Regions from separate parts of the Homo sapiens genome. Here all the other regions are linked to region 2. The links are contacts of gene promoters, found by promoter capture Hi-C in blood cells and fetal thymus (Javierre and others, 2016). All regions are on one chromosome and are shown on one strand. The core of a region is centred on a gene start or on the middle of the fragment in contact, and the rest is flanking DNA. Distances in the headings are between cores, read along the strand shown. Region 1 has its middle 67 kb from the start of CPAP. Region 2 holds the start of ATP8A2 (ATPase phospholipid transporting 8A2). Region 3 holds the start of PABPC3 (poly(A) binding protein cytoplasmic 3). Region 4 has its middle 16 kb from the start of PABPC3.

What was found. Contacts are between HindIII fragments. The CHiCAGO score rates a contact against its expected background, and 5 or more counts as called.
Region 1: a fragment that was not itself captured here is called in contact with the fragment with the promoter of ATP8A2 in region 2 in 1 of 17 cell types (neutrophils); the score reaches 6.4 in neutrophils.
Region 3: a contact is called between the fragment with the promoter of PABPC3 here and the fragment with the promoter of ATP8A2 in region 2, in 11 of 17 cell types (M2 macrophages, M0 macrophages, naive B cells and 8 more). The highest score is 26.4, in M2 macrophages.
Region 4: a fragment that was not itself captured here is called in contact with the fragment with the promoter of ATP8A2 in region 2 in 1 of 17 cell types (M2 macrophages); the score reaches 5.5 in M2 macrophages.

What each region holds. Positions count from the first base shown.
Region 1 is chr13:24,988,560-24,991,259 of GRCh38, reverse strand. It overlaps the pseudogene RPL34P27. Among named protein-coding and RNA genes, the nearest start is that of CPAP, 67 kb to the right of the region's middle. The HindIII fragment of the contact is 9,045 bases long and covers 1-2,700 here.
Region 2 is chr13:25,370,716-25,373,525 of GRCh38, reverse strand. It overlaps ATP8A2 (ATPase phospholipid transporting 8A2), which reads right to left and starts at 1,552. Exons shown (of 37, transcript NM_016529.6): 1 at 1,238-1,552. The coding sequence starts at 1,313. The HindIII fragment of the contact is 3,193 bases long and covers 191-2,810 here.
Region 3 is chr13:25,094,726-25,097,425 of GRCh38, reverse strand. It overlaps PABPC3 (poly(A) binding protein cytoplasmic 3), which reads right to left and starts at 1,290. Exons shown (of 1, transcript NM_030979.3): 1 at 1-1,290. The coding sequence starts at 1,227. LOC124900613 (a long non-coding RNA gene) reads right to left here and starts at 1,806. Exons shown (of 3, transcript XR_941762.3): 1 at 1,767-1,806. RefSeq lists a silencer at 1,081-1,375. The HindIII fragment of the contact is 7,788 bases long and covers 520-2,700 here.
Region 4 is chr13:25,078,691-25,081,508 of GRCh38, reverse strand. No RefSeq gene overlaps it. Among named protein-coding and RNA genes, the nearest start is that of PABPC3, 16 kb to the left of the region's middle. The HindIII fragment of the contact is 8,909 bases long and covers 1-2,818 here.

The sequences.
Region 1 (2,700 bases), core at 201-2,700, 380 kb after region 2:
TGAAACCCCGTCTCTACTAAAAATACAAAAATTAGCCGGGCCTGGTGGCACACGCCTGTAATCCCAGCTACTGCGGAGGCTGAGACATGAGAATCACTTGAATCCAGGAGGCGGAGGTTGTAGATTGCACCACTGCACTCCAGCCCAGGCAACAGAGTGAGACTCTATCTCAAAACAAAACAAAACAAAAGGAAATAGAAAATTAAAGCAACAATGAGATCCTATTATATATCTATTAAGATGGCTAAAATCCACTGTCTCCACTATGAACACCAACAGGAACAGCAACAGGAACTCTCATTTCTGGTGGGTATGCAATATGGAACAAGCACTTTCAAAGACAGTCTGGTGGCTTCTTATACAACTGAATATATTCATACCATACAATCCACCAATTATGGTACTTGGTATTTACCCAAAGAATTGGAAACTTATGTCCATACAAAAGTCCATCTGCACACAGATGTTTGGAGCAGCTTCATTCATAATTGCCAAAACTTGGAAGGTGAATAAACTGCGGTATATTCAGATGATGGAATATTAATCAGCACTAAAAGGAAATAAGCTATAATGCCATGAAAAGGAGGCATTGAATAACATTAAATATGTATTATTAAGGGAAAGAAATCAAGAACAAGATCATGTCCTTTGCAGGAACATGGATGGAGCTGGAGGCCATTATCCTAAGCTAACTAACACCGTAACAGAAAACCAGATACCAGATATTCTCACTTGTAAGTGGGAGCTAAATGATGAGAACACATGGATACATAGAGGGGAATAACGCACACTGGGGCCTATCAGAGAGTGGAGGGTAGGAGGAGGGAGAGGATCAGGAAAAATAATGAATGGGCACTAGGCTTAATATACCTGGATGATGAAATAATCTGTACAACAAACCCCCATGATACAAGTTTACCTATGTGACAAACCTGCATTTGTACCCAGGAACTTAAAATAAACATTAAAAAAAGAGGCAATTAGGATACAGACATGTAGAGAGGGAAGTCTGCAAGCCAAGGAGAGAGGCTGCAGGAGAATCCAAACCTGTCACTTTGATCCTGGACTTCCGGGCTCCAGGACTACGCAGCAATAACCTTCTGCTGTTTATGCCCTCAGTGTGTGTAACTTCCTTATAGTAACCCCAGCAAACGCATACATCATCCAGACTAGGTAGGCCATTTTTCTAAAATATTATTAAACTATGTCAAATATTTAAACACTGTTTTGTAAAATACAAGCTGAAGCGTTTGAACAACGTTTCCTCATTTGCACATTTATGCGCCAGTGAATTGCTGGTTGACATATTCACAGGTTTAAGCATATGGCATCTGGTTCATTTCATATATGGTTGGTTTCATCACACTGAATTCTGTTGTCACTTACATTAAGTCCCCAAAAGACCTTTTCATGAAATGTTAAGGAGAGATCATGAAATAATGAAATCAGATAAATAAACAATTGAATCTGGTGAATCCAACCAGAATTAAAAGTTGTCGTATTAGGGTCGAGTTGTACTATTTTGAGTGATAGTAACATATTATAGAATGAGACATAAACAAGATGCATTCCTAATTATATGTGTCTGTGCGCGTGTGTGTGTGTGTGTGTTGATGTACAAAATCTGGACAAAAAAAAAGTTTTCTTAAAGAACTATTTGAAGGCAAATAGTTCTTCAGTTAAATAGTTCTTCAAATAGTTAAGAAACTATTTAATAAATAGTTCTTCTTTAAATAGTTCTTCAAACAGTTAAGAAACTATTTTAAGTTTCTTAAAGAACTATCGGAAAGTGGATAAGAACAGGCAGAAACTGGAAGAGTGTCCATCTGTAAGGGATGAGCGTTTTCAGGTTTTCCGCTGCGGCTGATGTGGAAAGTAGTCTCTCTCACTGCCTTGAGGGCTCAGCGGATGGAGGCGGGATTCCTAAATGGCTGGAAAATGAGCGGGGGGAAAACGCCAGGTTGAAAGGAGCAAGGGTGGGGCGCGGTGGCTCACGCCTGTAATCCCAGCACTTTGCCAGGCCGAGGCCAGGGATCGTGAGGTCAGGAGATCGAGACCATCCTGGCTAACACGGCTAACACGGTGAAAACCCGTCTGTTCTAAAAATACAAAAATAAAATTAGCCGGGCGTGGTGGCCGGCGCCTGTAGTCCCAGCTACTCAGAAGCTGAGACGGGAGAATGGCGTGAACCCGGGAGGCGGAGGTTGCAGCGAGCCGAGACTGCGCCACTGCACTCCAGCCTGGGCGACAGAGAGAGACTCCATCCCCCGCCAAAAAAAAAAAAAAAAACGAGCAAGGGAGCGCTTCCGGGAACGTTGTCTGCAGGCACTCAGAATGGTCCAGCGTTTGACCTACTATCGTAGGCTTTCCTACAATACAGCCTCTAACAAAACTAGGCTGCTCCGAACCCCTGATAACGGAGTTGTGTACTTTTATACCAAGAAGGTTGGGAAAGCACCAAAATCTGCATGTAGCGTGTGCCCAGGCAGACTTTGAGGGGTTCGTGCTGTAAGACCTAAAGTTCTTAGGAGATTGTCCAAAACAAAGAAACATGTCCGCAGGGCCTGTAGTGGTTCCATGCGTACTAAATGTGTTCGTGACGGGATCAAGCGTGCTTTCCTTATCGAGGAGCAGAAAATCGTTGTGAAAGTGTTGAAGGCACAAGCACAGAGACAGAAAGCTAAATTAAAAAAACGAAAC
Region 2 (2,810 bases), core at 303-2,802:
CCTTGGGAAATTCTCACACCTGTATGACTGCGCCCTCCCACTGTCTCTCTGCCACAGCTCTTCCCTGCTATTTAGTCTTGACCCTGCACCCCGTGACCCCTTCAGGCTGGGATTCTCCTCAAAATGAATGTGAAAGTGTCCTGACTTTACCCAAGTTTAACAAACATTGGCTTAAATTACCTGATAAGCTTGCTTCCCTCTCACGTTACTCAACTACAGAAATACAAAAGTCGCTTATTTTTATGTGCCTATTTTCTCAAAACAAATAAAAAAGCACGAAGACAAGTGACCCCAGCTCCAAACTGTACACCCTCTACCTTCCTCATGTCAAAGATCTACCTGCAAACTTGCCGCAGTCCTGAAACGGTAAGAAATCATTTTTGGGGCTCCTCTTTACGTCTGCATTAACTAATGGTCTAGGTAACCCTATCAAGTGTCATAGCCACATAACATCCAGCTCCACGACATCATAGTTTCTAAATGTGTTCTATAATCATAGAACGCGGGCCTCTAACAGTGTGAGTGGTCGGGTATGGTACATGCGTGTTTGGCTTTAGGTTTCGAGTTCCAACACCCAGGCGCCTGCAGGCAGGGTATGTGTACGCGTGCGTGTGTACGTGTGTGTGTACCTGTGTGTGTGTGTGCGCGCGCGTGTGCGTGTGTGTGTTCGTCTCCAGATGGTTGTATGCACGGATGGTTATGAGCCAGTACGTCGCCGCTGTGAGCGCGCGAGGACCCGGGGCTCCAAGTGGTGAGAATCACTCGAGGGACCCTTCGGATGCCTTTTTCCCCCTCTGCTTTTGAGCTCTGCAGCACAGCGGTGCCGGCCGCCGGCAGGGAAGGCTGCATCTTCTCTGCGCCGCCAAACCGTGCCCACCATCGCGGTGACTGCCGCCTAGGTCGCATCCCTGAGCCGCATCCGCGCGTAGGGGCGCACGGGCACGCGCACAGGGAGGCCGCACACACACACACACATCTGTACAGGGACGAGCCGGGGGTCTCTGACGCCCGCCGCTCACCTCGCCCCGGCCTGGAGCCTTTTGGCCCCGCAGGTGCAGCGACGCCCAGCCCCCGTGCGGCCAGCGCGCCGCGTCGGCGGATCCTGCAGCCCAGAGAGCCCAGGGAGCCCAGGGAGGGGAGCGGGGCGCGGGCGGGGCAGTGTCGCATAACCGCAGGCGCGCCCCGCGCCGCCCCCGCCCCGGGCCCACCCTCCCTCGCCGCGCCCCTCCCAGCTCACCCACGGACGAGCGGATCCTCGACCTCCGCGGCAGGGACATCTTAAGAGCTTTGTCCAGGCCTGCGCCGTTCAGCATCTCGCCCGTGTCGGGGGCTCGGCGGCCCCGGGCGAGAGACGGAGGCTACGCGCAGGGCTGGGCGCAGGGGCCGCCGCCCGAGGACCATGGGTGGGCCAGCGCCTCGCCGGGCTGCTAGCTGGCGGGGACCGCCGGCGCCTGTGCCGGGCCGCGCCCGAGGCTGCGCCGTCCGTGCCGCAGCGGCCAATGCGGCAGCATCCGCGAACGCCACCGCGGCGGGCCCCGCTGGCCCGGGCTGCGGCGTGGGGGCGGGGGACCGGCCCTGAGCGGAGCCCCGCGGGAGGAGGAGCGGACGGGAGGCTGGGAGGGATCCGCAATATTACGCAGGACCGGGGCTTTTAGGTGTCGGGGAAGGCGATGGGGAGGGCTTGGTGGGGTGGGAGATTGGGCCTGTACTTTCGGGGGCTCTTCCAGGAGAGGGGTGCACCTGGGGGACTCGGAGTCTCTGCCTGTCTGCTACCTATTTACCTGCCTGTCACTTGTCCTGTGCAAGTGGAGGCGCTGTGATTCCCCAGGACTCATCCAGTCCCTTTCTTTTCGCAGTTTCTGTTCTTCCGTGCCCAGCCTGGTGGGATCTGTGTAGGGACTTCGTGGAAGGGTTATTTCCAAGGTGTCTGATGTGTGGCTTGGCACTCAGAGAAGTCGGGGGTCTCCAGCCCCCCACTCTCCACAACCTGCCTGACATTCTAACTACGCATATTAAAGCTGCAGGTAGCCCTAGGGAACCTTAACAGCAACCTTCTCAACCCCCGCACGCACACACACACACACACACACCCATCGACACACACACACACACACACAGACCCATCGACACACACACACACACACCCATCGACACACACACACACACACCTTCTTTCATAAAACAAAACCATCGAGAGGTAAGATGACTTGTCCAAGGTCACTTGATCTATTTTTTGTTTTTTCTTATCGCGTAATGTTTAGACTGTGCTTGGTCTTTCTGGGCACAATCCCATGAAGATAAGAAGCTATCTTTATTGTGCCTGATGACATTCTGACCTCGGAGTAAAAACGGAACAAAACAAAAATAAAACTGTTCAGGTGAAAGTCTGACCTTGCTTTTACTGATGCGAGCATTACATTTCTTTTAACCTAAATTAACATTAGGGACTGACAAGGAGTAGTACAGAGTTCAGCAAAAAGAATCTGTGCTAGCAAAGACAGCAGTGCGGCCTGAGCTCCTCCTGCCTGGCCTCTGCATCTGATTTTATTTTCTTTTACTTTTTTTTTTTCTTTGACAGAGTTTTGCTCTTGTTGCCCAGGCTGGAGTGCAATGGCGCTATCTCGGCCCACTGCAACCTCCGTCGCCCGGGTTCAAGTGATTCTTGTGTCTCAGCCTCCCGAGTAGCTGGGATTACAGGCGCCCACCACCACGCCCAGCTAATTTTTGTATTTTTAGTAGAGACGGGGTTTCACTAAGTTGGCCAAGCTGGTCTCGAACTCCTGACCTCAGGCGATCCACCTGCCTCGGCC
Region 3 (2,700 bases), core at 41-2,540, 280 kb after region 2:
CTGTGGGACAGCTGTCATGAAGTAACCTGAAGGAGGTGCTCGCTGGTTGGGCACAGCTCGTACACTTGCCATTCTCTGCATATACTCGTTAGTGAGGTAAGCCTGGCGCTCTTCTTTGCGCTGAGCTAAAGCTACATACAATGGCTTTGTGGCCACAATTCTACCGTTCATTTCTGTAACTGCTTTAGTGGCTTCTTCTGGGGAGGAGAAACATACAAAACCAAACCCTTTGCTGCGACCACCTTCCATCATAACCTTTGCACTAGTGATTGTACCAAATGGAGAAAACGCTTTCCGGAGACGTTCATCATCAATACCATCATCAAGATTTTTCACATAAAGATTAACAACCTGGTATCTGGTGATCCTATCTTGCTTCATCTGTTCAAATGTGCGCTTAAGTTCCGTCTGCCGTTCCACTTTTTTCTGAGCTCGACCAACGTAAATTTGTTTTCCATTGAGCTCCTTTCCATTCATCTCATCTACAGCTTTCTGTGCATCTTCATGCCTTTCAAAGCTTACAAATCCAAATCCTTTGGATTTTCCACTTTCATCGGTCATTACTTTCACACTTAAGGCGGGCCCGAACTTGCCAAAGAGATCCTTAAGGCGCTCATCATCCATGTCTTCTCCAAAATTCTTGATGTAAACATTGGGGAACTCTTTTGCCCTAGCTCCAAGTTCAGCTTCTCGTTCTTTACGAGACTTAAATTGTCCAACAAATACTTTGCGACCATTTAGGAGCATTCCGTTCATTTTTTTAATAGCTCTTTCAGCTGCTTCGTGTGTCTCAAAGTGTACAAATCCATAACCCTTGGAACCATTTTCATCACAAACCACGTTACACGAAAGGATGTTACCAAAAGCAGAAACTGTATCATACAGTGCTTTATTATTAATGGACTTATCCAGATTTTTAACGAATATGTTGCCCACTCCACTTTTTCGAAGTGATGGATCACGCTGAGACCACATGATGCGTACTGGCTTGCCCTTTATAACATCAAAATTCATGGTGTCCAGAGCATGCTCCGCGTCCTTCGTATGCTGGAAGTTCACATACGCGTAGTTGGAGGAGCCGCTGGTGATCAAGTCCCTGCAGATCCGGATGGAGAGGATGGGCCCTGCCGGGCTGAACTTCTCGTAGAGCATCGCCTCAGTCACGTCGGGGTGGAGGTCCCCCACGTAGAGCGAGGCCGTTGGGTAGCTGGGGGTGCTGGGGTTCATTCTCGGCACGGCTGCCCGCAGGCACACAAGCCGCGACCTTTCCGTTACAGGAGTAGAGCGCGTGCCGGGGCCGGGGGCGTAGCCGGAGGGAGGGGAGCGGGGGCAAGCGCAGAGGGACAAAAATCAGCCGAAATCGAAAACTACTCAACGGCCGCAGAACGGGGTCGATCCGCTGCCGCTGGCTGCCGGCTGCCGGCGGGGAGCCAGGGTAGCGGTGTCGGGTCCGGGCAGCAGGAAGGCCTTGGTCTCTTAGTTCCTTCTTGGAGCTGCTGCGGGGCCGCTGGCGGGCGGCTCGGGCTCAGCTGCTTCACCGGGTTATTTTGTAAAAGAGCATTAATGATTTTTCTAAAATGATTTTTATAATCCAAATTTAAAATGCCTGGGAAAAAAATAAATGAAAGAATTTTTTTCTCCTTTCTCCTTTAGTATGTTTTTATATATGTTCTACTTTACACAAATATATTTTTATAAAATATTTTCTACTTTTTACCTCGTCTCTACTAAAATTACAAAAAATTAGCTGGGCTTGATGTGCTCACCTGTAATCCCAGCTACTCGGGAGGCCTAGGCACGAGAATCGCTTGAACCCGGGAGGTGGAGGTTGCAGTGAGCAGAGATCGCGCCACTGCCCTCTAGTCTGGGTGACAGAGCGAGACTATCTCAAACAAACAAACAAACAAACAAAAAACCCCGAAAAACCGACTTTTTATATTATATAACAATATAAAACATAATAAATATGTAATTTTATTTTTCATTTATTTATTTTTATTTTACTTATTTATTTTTGAGACGGAGTTTTGCTCTGTCACCCAGGCTGGAGTGCAGTGGTGCGATCTCGGCTCACTGCAACCTCCACCTCCCAGGTTCAAGCGATTCTCCTGCCTCAGCTTCTAAAGTAGCTGGGATTACAGGCACCCACCACCAAGCCTGGCTAATTTTTTGTATTTTTAGTAGAGACGGGGTTTCACCATCTTGGCCAGGCTGATCTTGAACTCCTGACCTCGTGATCCACCCACCTCGGCCTCCCAAAGTGCTGGGATTACAGGCGTAAGCCACCGTGCCCGACCAATAAATATGTAATGTTAATATAGTATTATATGATATAGTCTTTTGAGGTCAGGTTGGGATTCATTATTAAGTATACGTTTTATGATTATAAGTACACAATCTTGTGACCTAATATAGCTACACATCTAAGTAAGTGATGATCTGAAATAATTCTATTTAAGAAAATCCTTTAAGAAAGGTCCAGTCCCACAAAAAATATCAGTTTGGGGGAGGATCTGTTCATTCTGTTCATGTTACAAATAATTTATTTTAGGGTTTTTTGTTTGTTTGTTTGTTTAGATAGAGTCTCGTTCTGTCACCCAGGCTGTAGTGCAGTGGTGCGATCTTGGTTCACCGCAACCTCCACCTCCCGGGTTCAAGGGATTCTAGCGCCTCAGCCTCCCGAATAGCTGGGATTACAGG
Region 4 (2,818 bases), core at 269-2,768, 290 kb after region 2:
GGACAGAGCGAGACTCCGTCTCAAAAAAAAAAAAAAAAAAAAAAAGGAAAAGAAAAAGAGTATAGTACAATAAGTTTGGCAAATACATACAAATATGCAAGGTCCTACCAACATCAAAATTCCTCTGTGCTCCCCTATAGCCAATCTTTTCTCTCCAACTCAGGCCTAAGACAACTGATCTTTTTTTCACGATAATTTGCCTTTTCCAGAATTTTGTGTAAATGGAATAATATGTTGTCTTCCGTGTCTGGCTTCTTTCACTTTGTGTGATATTTTAGTTTCATCCATGTTGCAGGTATCAACAGTTCATTCCGTCTTTTTGCTGAGCAGTATTCCGTTGTCCGGATACACAACAACTGGTTCATCTTTTCACTAGTTTATAAATATTTGGGTTATTTCCAGCTTGGAGCCATGAAGAATAATGTTGCTATGAACTTTGGCCCCCAATGTCTTTGCGTGGAAATAGATATATATGTATGTATGTATTCTTGGTTATATAACTAGGAGTGGAATTGCTGAGTCACATGTGGTGTGTGTTTCATGTGATAAGAAACTTGCAACTTCTTTTTCAAAATGGATATGGAAAACAGTGTAACTAACCACTGGCAATTATGAGTGTTCCAATTATTCTACCTTCATGTAGATAACAATCAATGCTTGGTGTTGTCAGGCTTTTCAAATTTCTGCCATCCCAGTGTCTCTCCTTGTATACTGGTCTCTCCTTGTTGTTTTAATTTGCATTTCTTTGGTTTGTTTGACAGTGATGTTGAGCATCTTTTAAATGACTTATTGGCTATTTACATATATTCTTTTGTGAAGTGTCTGTTTAAATCTTTTGTCCATTTTTTGATTGAATTGTTTGTCTTCTTATTAGTAAGTTTTTTTTATATGCAGGACACAAGGCCTTTGTTGGATACGTGTTTTACAAATTTTTTTTTTCCAATTTTGTTTTCTGAAGAGGGTCCTTTGAAGAACAAATATTTTTCATTTTAATGAAATTTAATTTGCTAATATTTTTCTTTTGTCTAACCTAATATCACAAGTCAATCCTTCTATTTTTCTCCTGCTTGAAGTTTTAAGATTTTAGCTCTTAAATGTAGGTCTATGATCCATTTTGAGTTAATTTTGGTATACAATAAAAGAAAAGGGTCCGGACCCTTTCCCCCAACAATATGGAAACTATTCTAGTGCTGTTTATTGAAAACATCATCCTTTCATCACTTAATTAGTTTGGCACTTTGATAAAGATCAGTTGACTATACATATGTCAGTCTACTTCTGGACTGGACTCTGTCCCACCGGTTGGTGTGCCTTTCCTTATCCCCATACCACACTCTCTTGGTTACTGCAGTGTTATAGTCAGTCTTCATATCAGGTAGTTTAAGTCCTTTGACTTTTCTCTTCTTTTATTTATTTATTTATTTATTTTTATTTTTTTTTTTTTTGAGACGGAGTCTCGCTGTGTCACCCAGGTTGGAGTGCAGTGGTGCGAACTCAGCTCACTGCAATCTCCACCTTCCTGGTTCAAGCGATTCTCCCACCTCAGCCTCCCAAGTAGCTGGGACTACAGGTGTGCGCTACTACACCCAGCTATTTTTTTTGTATTATTAGTAGAGACGGGGGTTCACCATATTGGCCAGGCTGGTCTCGAACTCCTGACCTCATGATCCGCCCGCTTCAGCCTCCCAAAGTGCTGGGATTATAGGAGTGAGCCACTGTGCCTGGCCGACTTTTCTCTTCTTTTTAAAATTGTTCAGCTACTTTAGATCCATCTCATCTTTATATCAATTTTATAATACACTTGTCAATTTCTAAAAGAAAATGCTTGCTGTAATTCCGATTAAAATTACATTGAATCTATTGATACAGTAACAATATTGAGTCTTCCAATTCATGAACATTACCTATCTGTCCATTTATTTAGGCTTTTTAAAATTTATTTTAACAGCATTATTTATCAGGGTATAGATCTTCCACACCTTTTGCTAAATTTATTCATAATTTTTTATGTTATTGTGAACATATTTGTATTTTAAATGTCCTTTTTAATTGCTTGCTGTTTATATATAGAAATAAAAGTGATGATTGCATATTGATCTTTTATCCTGTGATCTTGCTTTGATCACTTATTAGTTTCAGTAGACTTTGTATATTCCCTTAGGATTGTTTTATATATGTACTTATATTGACTGCAAATAAAGACAGTTTTATTTCTTCTTTTACAAACTCTATGCCTTTTTTTTTGTCTTATTGAACTATCTTTATAAGAGTGAATATCTTTGTCTTGTTTCTGTTCTAAGGTTGAAAGCACTTGGTTTTTCACAATTTAGTACGATGTTAGCTCTGAGTTTTTTATAGATGTCTTTTTTCAGGTTGCAGAAATTTCATTCTATTCTGAACTTGCTCAAAGTTTTATCATGAATAGGTGTTGAAGTTTGTCACATAGTTTATTCTGCATCTGTCGAGACGATCACGTTTTTTCTCCTCTATTCTATTCATATGGTGAATTACGTTAATTGGTTTTCATACATTAAAGCAATATTGCATTTCTTACATACACACCATTTGATCATGATACATGATTCTTTTATTATATTACTAGATTTCCTAATATTTTCTTAAACATTTTTGCATGTATGTCCATGAGGTATATCGGTCTATGGTTTTCTTGTTATGTCTTTGTCAGGTATTAAATGAGGGTAATGCAGGCCTAATAATATGAATAGAGCAGTATTCCAACTCCTTTTTCCTGACATAGTTTGGGAGAGATTTTAACTTAATGTTAAAACTTAAATGTTTGGGCCAGGCGTGGTGGCTT